Regions from separate parts of the Homo sapiens genome. Here all the other regions are linked to region 1. Evidence: promoter capture Hi-C in human tissues and cell types (Jung and others, 2019). All regions are on one chromosome and are shown on one strand. Each heading gives the region's core, a stretch centred on a gene start or on the middle of the fragment in contact. The rest is flanking DNA. Distances are from core to core; before and after follow the strand shown.

Evidence for each region. The method cuts DNA at HindIII sites, captures the fragments that hold promoters and counts their contacts. A contact is called where the count stands out against the background at its distance.
Region 2: a fragment that was not itself captured here is called in contact with the fragment with the promoter of NPBWR2 in region 1 in 2 of the 25 tissues and cell types used here (dorsolateral prefrontal cortex and liver).
Region 3: a contact is called between a fragment that was not itself captured here and the fragment with the promoter of NPBWR2 in region 1, in 5 of the 25 tissues and cell types used here (H1 embryonic stem cells, lymphoblastoid cells, mesendoderm cells and 2 more).

What each region holds. Positions count from the first base shown.
Region 1 is chr20:64,105,679-64,109,070 of GRCh38, forward strand. It overlaps NPBWR2 (neuropeptides B and W receptor 2), which reads right to left and starts at 1,887. Exons shown (of 2, transcript NM_005286.4): 1 at 1,686-1,887; 2 at 1-1,244. The coding sequence starts at 1,153. The coding sequence ends at 152. RefSeq lists an enhancer at 1,435-1,935. The HindIII fragment of the contact is 24,186 bases long and covers 1-3,392 here.
Region 2 is chr20:63,991,847-63,995,238 of GRCh38, forward strand. It overlaps PRPF6 (pre-mRNA processing factor 6), which reads left to right. Exons shown (of 21, transcript NM_012469.4): 4 at 1,561-1,639; 5 at 3,070-3,246. Among named protein-coding and RNA genes, the nearest start is that of PRPF6, 12 kb to the left of the region's middle. The HindIII fragment of the contact is 7,819 bases long and covers 1-3,392 here.
Region 3 is chr20:64,212,362-64,215,753 of GRCh38, forward strand. It overlaps MYT1 (myelin transcription factor 1), which reads left to right. Exons shown (of 23, transcript NM_004535.3): 10 at 1,173-1,286. Among named protein-coding and RNA genes, the nearest start is that of PCMTD2, 42 kb to the right of the region's middle. The HindIII fragment of the contact is 3,318 bases long and covers 1-3,172 here.

The sequences.
Region 1 (3,392 bases), core at 637-3,136:
TGATGGGGGTGGTGGTGGGGGTGATGGTGGGGGTGGTGGTGGGGGTGGGGGGGGGTGGGCCTGATGGGGGTGTGGGCATGATGATGATGGGCGTGATGATGATGGGGGGTGATGATGGGCATGATGATGGGGGTGATGGTGCCCAGGCCCTTCAGCACCGCAATATGCTGCGGAAGTTCTTCCGGAAGTTGTCATCTAGAAAGGCGTAGAGGAAGGGGTTCAGGCACGAGTTGGCGTAGCTGAGGCTGGTGATGACGTAGGACATACTGATGACCAGTGGGGTCTGGGGCAGGTCCGTGGTCAGGGCCACGACAGAGGCCAGGTGGAAGGGCGTCCAGCAGAGGAGGCACACGGCCAGCACGACGAGGACCAGGACGGTCACCTTCCGCCTGGCCTTGCCTAGAGCCTTGGCTCCAGAGCGGAGCCGCACGGCCCGCAGCCTGCGCAGGAGGTCTGTGTAGAGCACACAGATGGTGCACACGGGCAGCACGAAGCCCAGGACCAACGTGTAGACACGGCTGGCCTTGAACCAGACCTGCTCGGGCCACGGGAAGCTCAGCCCACAGCTTGGGACCTGCAGCTCGTTGCTGTAGACGCCAGCGAAAGAGAAGAAGGGCAGAACCAGGACCGTGACGCCCAGCCAGACACACAGGCTGGCGACCTTCGCCCCCCGGTAGGTGCGCCAGGGCATGTGGCGGGACCTCACGGTGGCCAGCACCACCAGGTATCGGTCCACGCTCATCACGGCTAGGAAGTAGATGCTGGAGAAGATGTTGTAGTGGTCGACGGCCAGCACCAGCTTGCAGAGCAGCTCCCCGAAGGGCCAGTACTGCAGCAGGTGCTCCGCGATGTTGACGGGCAGTACCAGCGTGAAGAGCCCGTCGGCGACGGCCAGGTTCAGGATGAACACGTTGGTCACCGTCTTCATCTTGGGCGCCCTTAGGATTACAAGGATGACGGCCGTGTTGCCAGTCAGCCCCACAGCACAGATCCCGGAGTACACGGCGGGCAGGAGCACATAGAGGAACGGCAGTGGCTCGGAGAAGGTGGCATTGTGGCCAGTGCCATTGTCCTGAGAGACGTTGGCACCCATCGTGGGGAGGGAGAAGGAGCCCCTGCTGTCAAGGGGCTCTGGGTGCCCAGCGGCCTGCATTGTAGCTGGGACCGTTGACGATTTGCGCCCTGGGCAGGTGGGAGGTGCCTTGGAGTTGGGTATCTGGTTGGGGGCCTCCTTGGGCTGGATTCTAGGAAAGAAAAACAACCAGAGACTTTGAGATCCGGCCGTCTGTTAGGGCACAGCCACTCCAGGTTCTCTGGCAGAGACTGCGGCCACTTTGCCAGGTCAAGGACATGGGGCCAGAGGGAGCCTGGTGGGGTGTGTGGGGGCCTCCTCCCGCCTCTTCCTGGTGAGACTTCAGCAGATCAGTTCCCTCCTCCCGCAGAGAGCAGCTGCTGGCCACCCTCCTGGGAAGAGATGTGGATCCGTCCCTGCCCCAGCAACCCGCAGATGCACGGGCTGCGTAGAATCAAGCGGTCCCTTTGGAAACACACCTCCCAAGCTCATCTCTGGCTCCCTTGAATCTGAAGGTCCTTCCCTCAGGGGTCTTGGAGTCTGCACCCTCCCTCACACCCTCCCGAGAGATGCTGCAGACCCTGCTGGTCCAGCTACTCTTCTCTCCACTGACCTGTCCAGTGCTTCGAGTCCAGAAGTTGGTAGCCTTGGTGTGTTCCTGGTTTTGGCCAGTACAGGCAGTCGCAGGGATGGAGGGCGAGGTGTGGTCCTCACTGACAGACCTCCAGCTGAGGTTTCAGGAGTTTCAAGACCTGCCCTGCTGGCTGCCTCAGCCCCGGCTGCGAGGTTCCCAGCCTGGTGTCAGTGCTGATGCTGGTGAGGGAGGGAGGCGGATCCCCCTTGCTGACGTGGAGCCCGGAAGGCAGGCCCCACCTTCCCCTGAGCTGCAGTAGCGCCTGCAGTCGGCTGTCCCAGGGTCTCCTCAGCATTCACTTACCCAGGCAGACTCCTCAGTGGGCGGCTGAGGCACGTGTGCGCCTGTGTGTCAGGAAGGGACTCCATGCAGGGGCCTCTGGGTGTGCCCAGGTCTTCGGGCAGAGGGCACTGAAGGCATCTGTGCCTCTGTCCGGGAGTCACTGTGGGCCTGGGCACCCTTATCTGTGAACATGGGTGTCTTGGTGGGTCTCCTGCCCCACCCTGTGTGTGTACATGGTGTGTTCCTGTGTGTGTGTGCCAGTTAGGACATGTACGTGTGTGGGCCTGTGTCTGCCTGTATGGGGGTCTCTGTGGGTGAGCTCTGCGTTGTATCTGAGTGGGTCTACATGTCCTTGGCTGAGTGTGGGCATCTGGGGGGTCTGTATGCCCTCATGTGGAAGCAGAACTTGTTGGCCATAGGCAACCCACCTTCTTTTTTTGTCTTTTGCTAAAAGAGGAACTCAGCCTAGGCAAGCTGTGAAAGGCTGCAGAGAAGACGTTCTCACGCTGACACGTAACTCTCCCGCCGTCCTGCAGAGGTGGTGAGCATCACACTCTGCTCTGGGTTGGTCTTTAAGTCCTTCCCTTCTCCCTGCTTTTCTTCCTTGCTGGACGCACCCTGGCTTATCCAACCCGTGTGTGTGCAGCTCGGCCGCATCTGGACCTGCTTTGCAGGCAACGCCACAGCTGACACGAGCAGTCGCCAGTCTCAGAGCCGCTCCTCAGCGGAGACGTGTTGGGTCAGAGGGTCTGTGTTTTCTTTCCTTTCTTCTTTTTTGAGACAGGGTCTTGCCCTGTCACCCAGGCTGGGGTGCAGTGGCACTATCATGGCTCACTGCAGCCCTGACCTCCCTGGGCTCAGGTGATCCTCCCACCTCAGCCTCTCAAGTAGCTGGGACTACAGGCATGTGCCACCATGCCTGGCTAATTTTTGTGTTTTTTTTTGTAGAGACGGGGTTTCACCATGTTGCCCAGGCTGGTCTCGATCTCCTGAGCTTCAGCCTCTACCTCAGCCTCCCAAAGTGCTCAGGTTATAGCCATGACCCACCGTGCCTGGTCACTGTGTGTTTTCAGTCTGGGGAGATGTGTCTGCCCATCGAGACTGTGCCCGCTGCCTGTGGGGTTGCAAGGATGTCACCGCACACTCATGGTCGGCCTTCTTTCCTGAGAGTTGCTCTGTCAAGTCTATTGGTTAGGACAGGAGCCTGGGCAGTCGCCCTGAGTACCCTGATGTCGCCAGCCTGAGGGTACACTGTGGGTGGGCCCCGAGCTACCCTTCTATGGGCTGTGCCATGTGGATGTTGAGTCCGGGGTCAGGGAACCCTGCTGAGATATCTCACACTCCTCTTCAGCCAGTTTGGGGATGGCGGTGGGGGGGATCTGTGGGTGTGTCTCGAGGGAGCGT
Region 2 (3,392 bases), core at 481-2,980, 110 kb before region 1:
ACAAACAAGTAGGAAGAACAGTACTGTGAATACCATATCCTCACATGTAGTCTCAACACCGAAGTGCAATTACATGGGTTATGTTCTGGCACATAGAGCTGTGCAGCTGAGCTGAGTTGGTTAGAGGTGAACTATTTACTTGGAAGAGAAGGAAGCAAGGAAGGAAAGGTGGGATGAGTTCAGTAGAGTGTTTGGAGTGTTTGGTGGTAACTAGGATAGTTACTGTTTTTCCTTGTAGGTGTTTTTTTGTTTTGTTTTGTTTTGTTTTGTTTTGCGACAAGGTCTCGCTCTGTCGCCCAGGCTAGATTGGCTCACTGCAACCTCCACTTCCTGGATTCAGATGATTCTCCTGCCTCAGTCTCCCAGGTAGCTGGGGATTACAGGTGCCCACCACCATGCCCAGCTAATTTTTATTTTTATTTTTATTTTTTTGAGACGAAGTTTCACTCTTGTCACCCAGGCTGGAGTGCAATGGCATGATCTTGGCTCCCTGCAACTTCCACCTCCCAGGTTCAAGCAATTCTCCTACCTCAGCCTCCTGAGTAGCTGGGATAACAGGCATGCGCCACCACGCCTGGCTAATTTTCATATTTTTAGTATAGATGGGGTTTTACCACATTGGCCAGGCTTGAACTCCTGACCTCAGGTGATCTGCCCACCTCGGCCTCCCAAAGCGTTGGGATTACAGGTGTAAGCCACCACGCCTGGCCTTCTTAGGTGTTTATGGGATGGTCCTACCTTTGGGATTTTGTGAATTTTCAAGCAGTAAATATACACATGTCCAAATGGAGGTATTTAGATCAAAGTAAGATCTTTTTTTTTTATTTTAATGAATTTCTACATGTTTTTATTTGGTGGATAATTGAATTAGTAGACTTACGAATGTATTTATATTTATTTATTTAGAGGCAGAGTCTCTCTGTGTTGCCCAGGCTGGAGTGCAGTGGTGCGATCTTGGCTCACTGCACCCTCTGCCTCCTGGGTTCAAATGATTCTGCCTCAGCCTCCCAAGTAGCTGTGATTACAGGTGTGTGCTACCATGCCCAGCTAAGAATGTATTCATAGTTACCTTAAAATATATTTGATTTGGGCTGGGTGCGGTGGCTCACACCTGTAATCCCAGCACTTTGGGAGGCCAAGGTGGGTAGATCACAAGGTCAGGAGTTCGAGAACAGCCTGGCCAGGATGGTGAAACCCCGTCTCTACTAAAAACACAAAAATTAGCTGGGAGTGGTGGCGAGCACCTGTAATCCCAGCTACTTGGGAGGCTGAGGCAGGAAAATCACTTAAACCCAGGAGGTGGAGGTTGCAGTGAGCTGAGATTGCGCCACTGCACTTTAGCCTGGGTGACAGAGCAAGACTCCATCTCAAAAAAAAAAATGTGTGTGTGTGTGTGTGTGTGTGTGTGTGTGTGTGTATATGTATATATATATATATATATTTGATTTAGCTACTAAGAGTATGGAATTGTTCTTTTTGGTGATTTAATTGAGATGGATAATAAATTTGCTTCAGAACAGACATGCAGTGTTTCTGATGTGTGCATGTTTTATTTCCTAGGGAGCAAAGGGAGAAAGAAGAAATAGAGAAATATCGTATGGAACGCCCCAAAATCCAACAGCAGTTCTCAGACCTCAAGGTGAGCCGATGAAGCGGTGAATGGTGTGCGGTTTCTAACGCTCTCACCCTAACCCGCAGAGACTCAGACTGCTCTTACGTGGAATTTATGAGACTTTACGTTTTTAATTTAGGGGGTCATTGCTTAGAAGAAGAAAGTGTTTGCTTCAGTATGTTTAATTATATGTGTGTAAAAAAAAACCCTTCCCCTACTGTAAAAGGTAGGACAAATGAACTTATTTTCTTTGTAATTTTGACTCCATTTATACCTAAGATTTTCTTTTTTCTTTTTTCTTTTTTTTTTTGGAGGCAGTCTGGCTCTGTTGCCCTGGCTGGAGTGCAGTGGCGTGGTCTCAGCTCACTGCAACCTTCACCTCCTAGGTTCAAGCAATTCTTGTGCCTCAGCCTCCTAAGTAGCTGGGATTACAGGTGCCTGCCACCATACCCAGCTAATTTTTGTATTTTTAGTAAAGACAGGATTTCGCCATGTGTACCAGGCTGGTCTCAAACTCCTGAACTCTAGTGATCTGCCCACCTCAGCCTCCCAAAGGGCTGGGATTACAGGCGTGAGCCACCACGTCTGGCCCCATTTATACGTAAGATTTTCTAAACTGTGTCCCCTGGGCTTTGAGAGAATAATTTACATTTTAGTGAAGTTGAACAGATCCAATAAATTGATTTTTCTTTTCTTTTTCTTTTTTTTTTTTTTTTGAGACGGAGTTTGGCTCTTGTTGCCCAGGCTGGAGTGCAATGACGCGATCTCAGCTCACCGCAACCTCCGCCTCCCAGGTTCAAACGATTCTCCTGCCTCAGCCTCCCTAGTAGCTGGGATTACAGGCATGTGCCACCATGCCCGGCTAATTTTGTATTTTTAGTAGAGATGGGGTTTCTCCATGTTGGTCAGGCTGGTCTCGAACTCCCGACCTCAGGTGATCTGCCCGCTTTGGCCTCCCAAAGTGCTGGGATTAACAGGCATGAGCCACCGTGCCCGGCCTAAATTGATTTTTCTAAGTGAAGTAGAAAACTATTTTTGGGGCTGGGTACAGTGGCTCACATCTGTAATCTCAGCACTTTGGGAGGCTGAGGTGGGAGGATCACTTGAGCCCAGGAGTTTGAGACCAGCCTTGGGGAGAACCTGTCTTTACAAAAAATAAAAACTTAGCCAGGCATGGTGGCCCACGCTTGTGGTCCCAGCAACTTGAGAAGCTGAAGTGGGAGGATCACTTGAGCCTGGGAGGTTGAGGCTGCAGTGAGCTGTGATTGTGCCACTGAATCCAGCCTGGGCAACAGAATGAGACCCATCTCAAAACAAAAGTAAAAAACAGTTGCTGCATCCAAATCCCTTCTAAAGCTTGGTGATCTGGAGGCTAGGGGTGAGAGAGGGCATGGTCCTACCTGGGCACATGAAATTCTGTCAGAGAATTAATGTTTTTGGGGGCTGGATATTTCCAGAGGAAGTTGGCAGAAGTCACAGAAGAAGAGTGGCTGAGCATCCCCGAGGTTGGCGATGCCAGAAATAAACGTCAGCGGAACCCACGCTATGAGAAGCTGACCCCTGTTCCTGACAGTTTCTTTGCCAAACATTTACAGACCGGAGAGAACCATACCTCAGTGGATCCCCGACAAACTGTGAGCTTCCAAAAAAGGGCACATGTGGCCCATTTAGTCCTGTTAGATCAGTGGCAGGAATGGTGGGTGGTGTTGGATTCAATGCTTCTGCAGGTCATGGCTATGCTGTGGCCGAGTCTGTCTGCACAGCTGTGCATATGTCAGGC
Region 3 (3,392 bases), core at 264-2,763, 110 kb after region 1:
CCCTGTGTGCTACCCTTCTCCCAGCCTGCCGCCCTGAGGAGTGGGTACAAGGTCAGGGCACACCTGGGCGGTGAGGGGCCTTTGTGAGGGCAGAGTGGCAACTGGAGGTGCAGTCACCCAGTGGTGTTGCTGCCTTAACCCTACGAGCTCCCGAGAGAGCAGGGGGCGGCCTGCAGAGGAGGGAGCAATGCACCCTCTGTGAAGAGAGGTACAACAACCATGTGAGAGCCAGGTGAATACTTTGTGTCCTACCCACATTCAGAAAACCTCTGCACACTGGCTCTTGCTCCTGAGTGGGAAGGGCAGACATGAACAGTAACCTCGGCAGGCCAGGACTGTGCTCTGGGCTGCTTTGTGGGAGTTCTGAGGCCCAGGTGGAAGTGAAGCTTCCCGACCACCCTCGAGGTGTAGTTGTTGACTGGTCTTCTATGGTGAGGGGGGACTACTCCTCCAGCCTTACCCTAAGTGCCATGGGTGGCCGTGGCCTCGGTGGGATATGCTTTCCCCCAGCAGGCTTATGCTCAGCTGAAAGGACTGCCAGAGCTTTTGAGGTCACTTCATTTGAAAAGAGGCCAGTTCCCCATTACGTCACCTCCCTGGGCTGGCTGAGGGACTGGCGCTGGAGCTCACAGTTAACTTTATTCTGACAGATGAAGCTGCTGCCTCCGTGTCTTAGACTGAGTACTTTCCTGGGCCTGTGTCATCCAGGGTCAGTGCCCAGGCTGTGGTCCAAGTGGGGCCCTGGGCTGCCCCAGAGCAGCTAACAGAACAAGCGCCAGAGAGGGCTGCAGAATCCAGCCCTGCAAGCTGGGAAGGGAGAGGAAGGGGGTGAGGGCAAGCCTGTCTCCCAGACCCATGCAGAGGAGGCATCTTTGCCCAGAGCTTTCAAGGCCTTTAGGATATATTTCATCTTTGTGTGTCCTTGGCATAGAATGTTCCAAAACAGAAACTGACTGGGCAGCTTGTACTGTGAGGGCTCAAGAACAGAGCCAGAGAGAAAACCCCTGTCCTGCAGAATGACAGGGTTATTCCCGGCTCTGGGCTTCTCTGGAGTTCACCTGGAGTTCTCACATCTGAATGACCTTGCCGTGAGACACCCACACACACAGACACCCAGGACAGGACAGGCATGGAGGGGAAGGCTCAGAAACCCCTCCTCTTCCTTCCTCTAGTTTGTCTGGGTGTCCCATTGCTGCCGCCGAAAAATTAGCCAAATCCCATGAGAAGCAGCAGCCGCAGACAGGAGATCCTTCCAAGAGTAGCTCCAATTCCGATCGGATCCTCAGGTGAGTGAGATGAGCCACAGAACTGAAGAGGCTGCCTCCCAAATGCCTGCAGAGGGCTTCTCAGTCTCCCGCAGGCTGTATGTGCATGTGTGTGAGTGCATGTGTGTGAGTGTACGTGCATGTGAGTGTACGTGCATGTGAGTGTGCACATGCCCCGGGCCCCCCAGGAGCAGAACTGCGGGGCAGTTTTGGAGCCACACAGGACAGAGTCTCATGTCTACCACATTCGCCAGTGCCTCAGCCAAAGCGCAAACTCCTGCACAGTTGCCTCTGCCTCCGACATGGGGCTCTGCCTCCTTGGAGTCGTCTGATGTGACCACTTGAGGCCCCTTGGGGATTCATTTGTGGAGATGCTGGTCCTGTCTGGAAAGAGCAGACTGCACCAGCCAAGGACCACGGACGTCCAGGAAGCACCATGAGCCACTAATCCTTGGCCGTCCTGCCTGTCCCTCCCCGACCCCAGGGATAGACCCCAAGTCAAGGAAGAGGGTGGGTGCAGGCTTTGCTCCCCAGAGTGCTTTGTGGCCCCTGAGGTTCTGAGATCACAGTAGGTGTGTGTGAACATGTGGGAGCGTGTGTGTGCATGTTCACACGCCTGTTTGTGTTTGCATATGTGCGGGTATGTTTACATGTGCGTGCAAGTCCATGTGTATGTGAACACGTGGGAGCGTGTGTGTGCATGTTCACACGCCTGTTTGTGTTCGCATATGTGCGAGTATGTTTACATGTGCGTGCAAGTCCATGTGTGTGTGCATGTGTAAATTTGGCTCTAATCAATAAGGATCTTTCAGAATGTGTCCCATTAGTGTCCCCTCCTTCCATGTGGCTCTAAGAAGTAAGTGCCACAAATAAGGCCAGAGGCTCAGAGAGTTGCCCAAGGCCACCCTGCCCATCCTGCCTGGCTTCAAAGTCTCTCCTCTATGGAGCTGAGTCCTTGGACCACGGTACCCACTGTCGAAGAGGACACTTCCACTGCTCCTGTCTTCACCTGCAGACACCCTGCTCCCCACTCCCGTGAGGAACTAGAACTCACACACAGCTCCTCCTCCCCAGCTCTCAGACCCCTGTTCCATATCTGTCTCACCAGACAAGAGTGTAGGAGACCCCGGCTGGGGTGAGCGTGAATGACTGCATAGCCCCTTCCACTGTCCGCCTCCTTTCGGGGCCCACCTGACCCCGGCCCTTCCTGGCACATAATTGGCAAAGTTCCAGCCAGATGATCTTCGCTGCTCACCTTGGCTGTGTCATGCCCAGGCCCTTCCCTGGTCTGCTCCAGAGTGTTCCTCTGAAGGTGCAATTCCCACACGTGGGATCTCTGGGCAGAGCACAGAGACTTGCCTTCCTGCTCTGTGGGCATGCTTGCCATCCCACACACAGGCACCTTCAGCCCTGCAGGTCCCAGCAGGCTGCTTTCCACCAGCTGGCTCTCACAATGGTTTGAAGCTGCTTTTTTCCTCTATCTTATTTGCTGTTCCCTCCAGCTTCCTGTCAGTTGCTAATTCAATCCTTTCCCTCTTTGATCTAAATCACCGATAAAATGTCAAACCGCAGATTTGGCCCCCGTGTGAGGCCAGGCAGGGGTGTCAAACAGGCTCCAACTTTGGAGACTGCACTCCCTGGGACTATGACCTCAGTTTGTTCACTTATAAAAGTAGGACAACAAACTAAGTCGCTCATGAGGCTCAAGTGACACTCTGCCGCCCTCAGCCCATGGTGAATACTCACTGAACGCTAGAGAGATTGTGGCTAGGGTGGAGGAGGCCTCCCGTTAGGCCCTTTTGATTCTATCCAGCCCACATTTCTGGCTATCGAACTTTGGGGTGTGAGGACGGGCTTTGCAAAGCTTCGTTGGCATTGTGGACAATAAGTGTACAGATTCTGACTGAAGCCTTGGTCAAGGAAGCCATCAACGGTGGTACCAATGTTAAGCTTATTATTATTATTATTATTTTTAGTGACAGAGTGTCACTCTGTTGCTCAGGCTGGAGTGCAGTGGTTTCAATCATAACTCACTATAACCTCAAACTCCTGGTCTCAAGTGATCCTCCCACCTCAGCCTCCCGAGTACCTAGGAATACAGATGTGCCATCATACCTGCCTATTTTT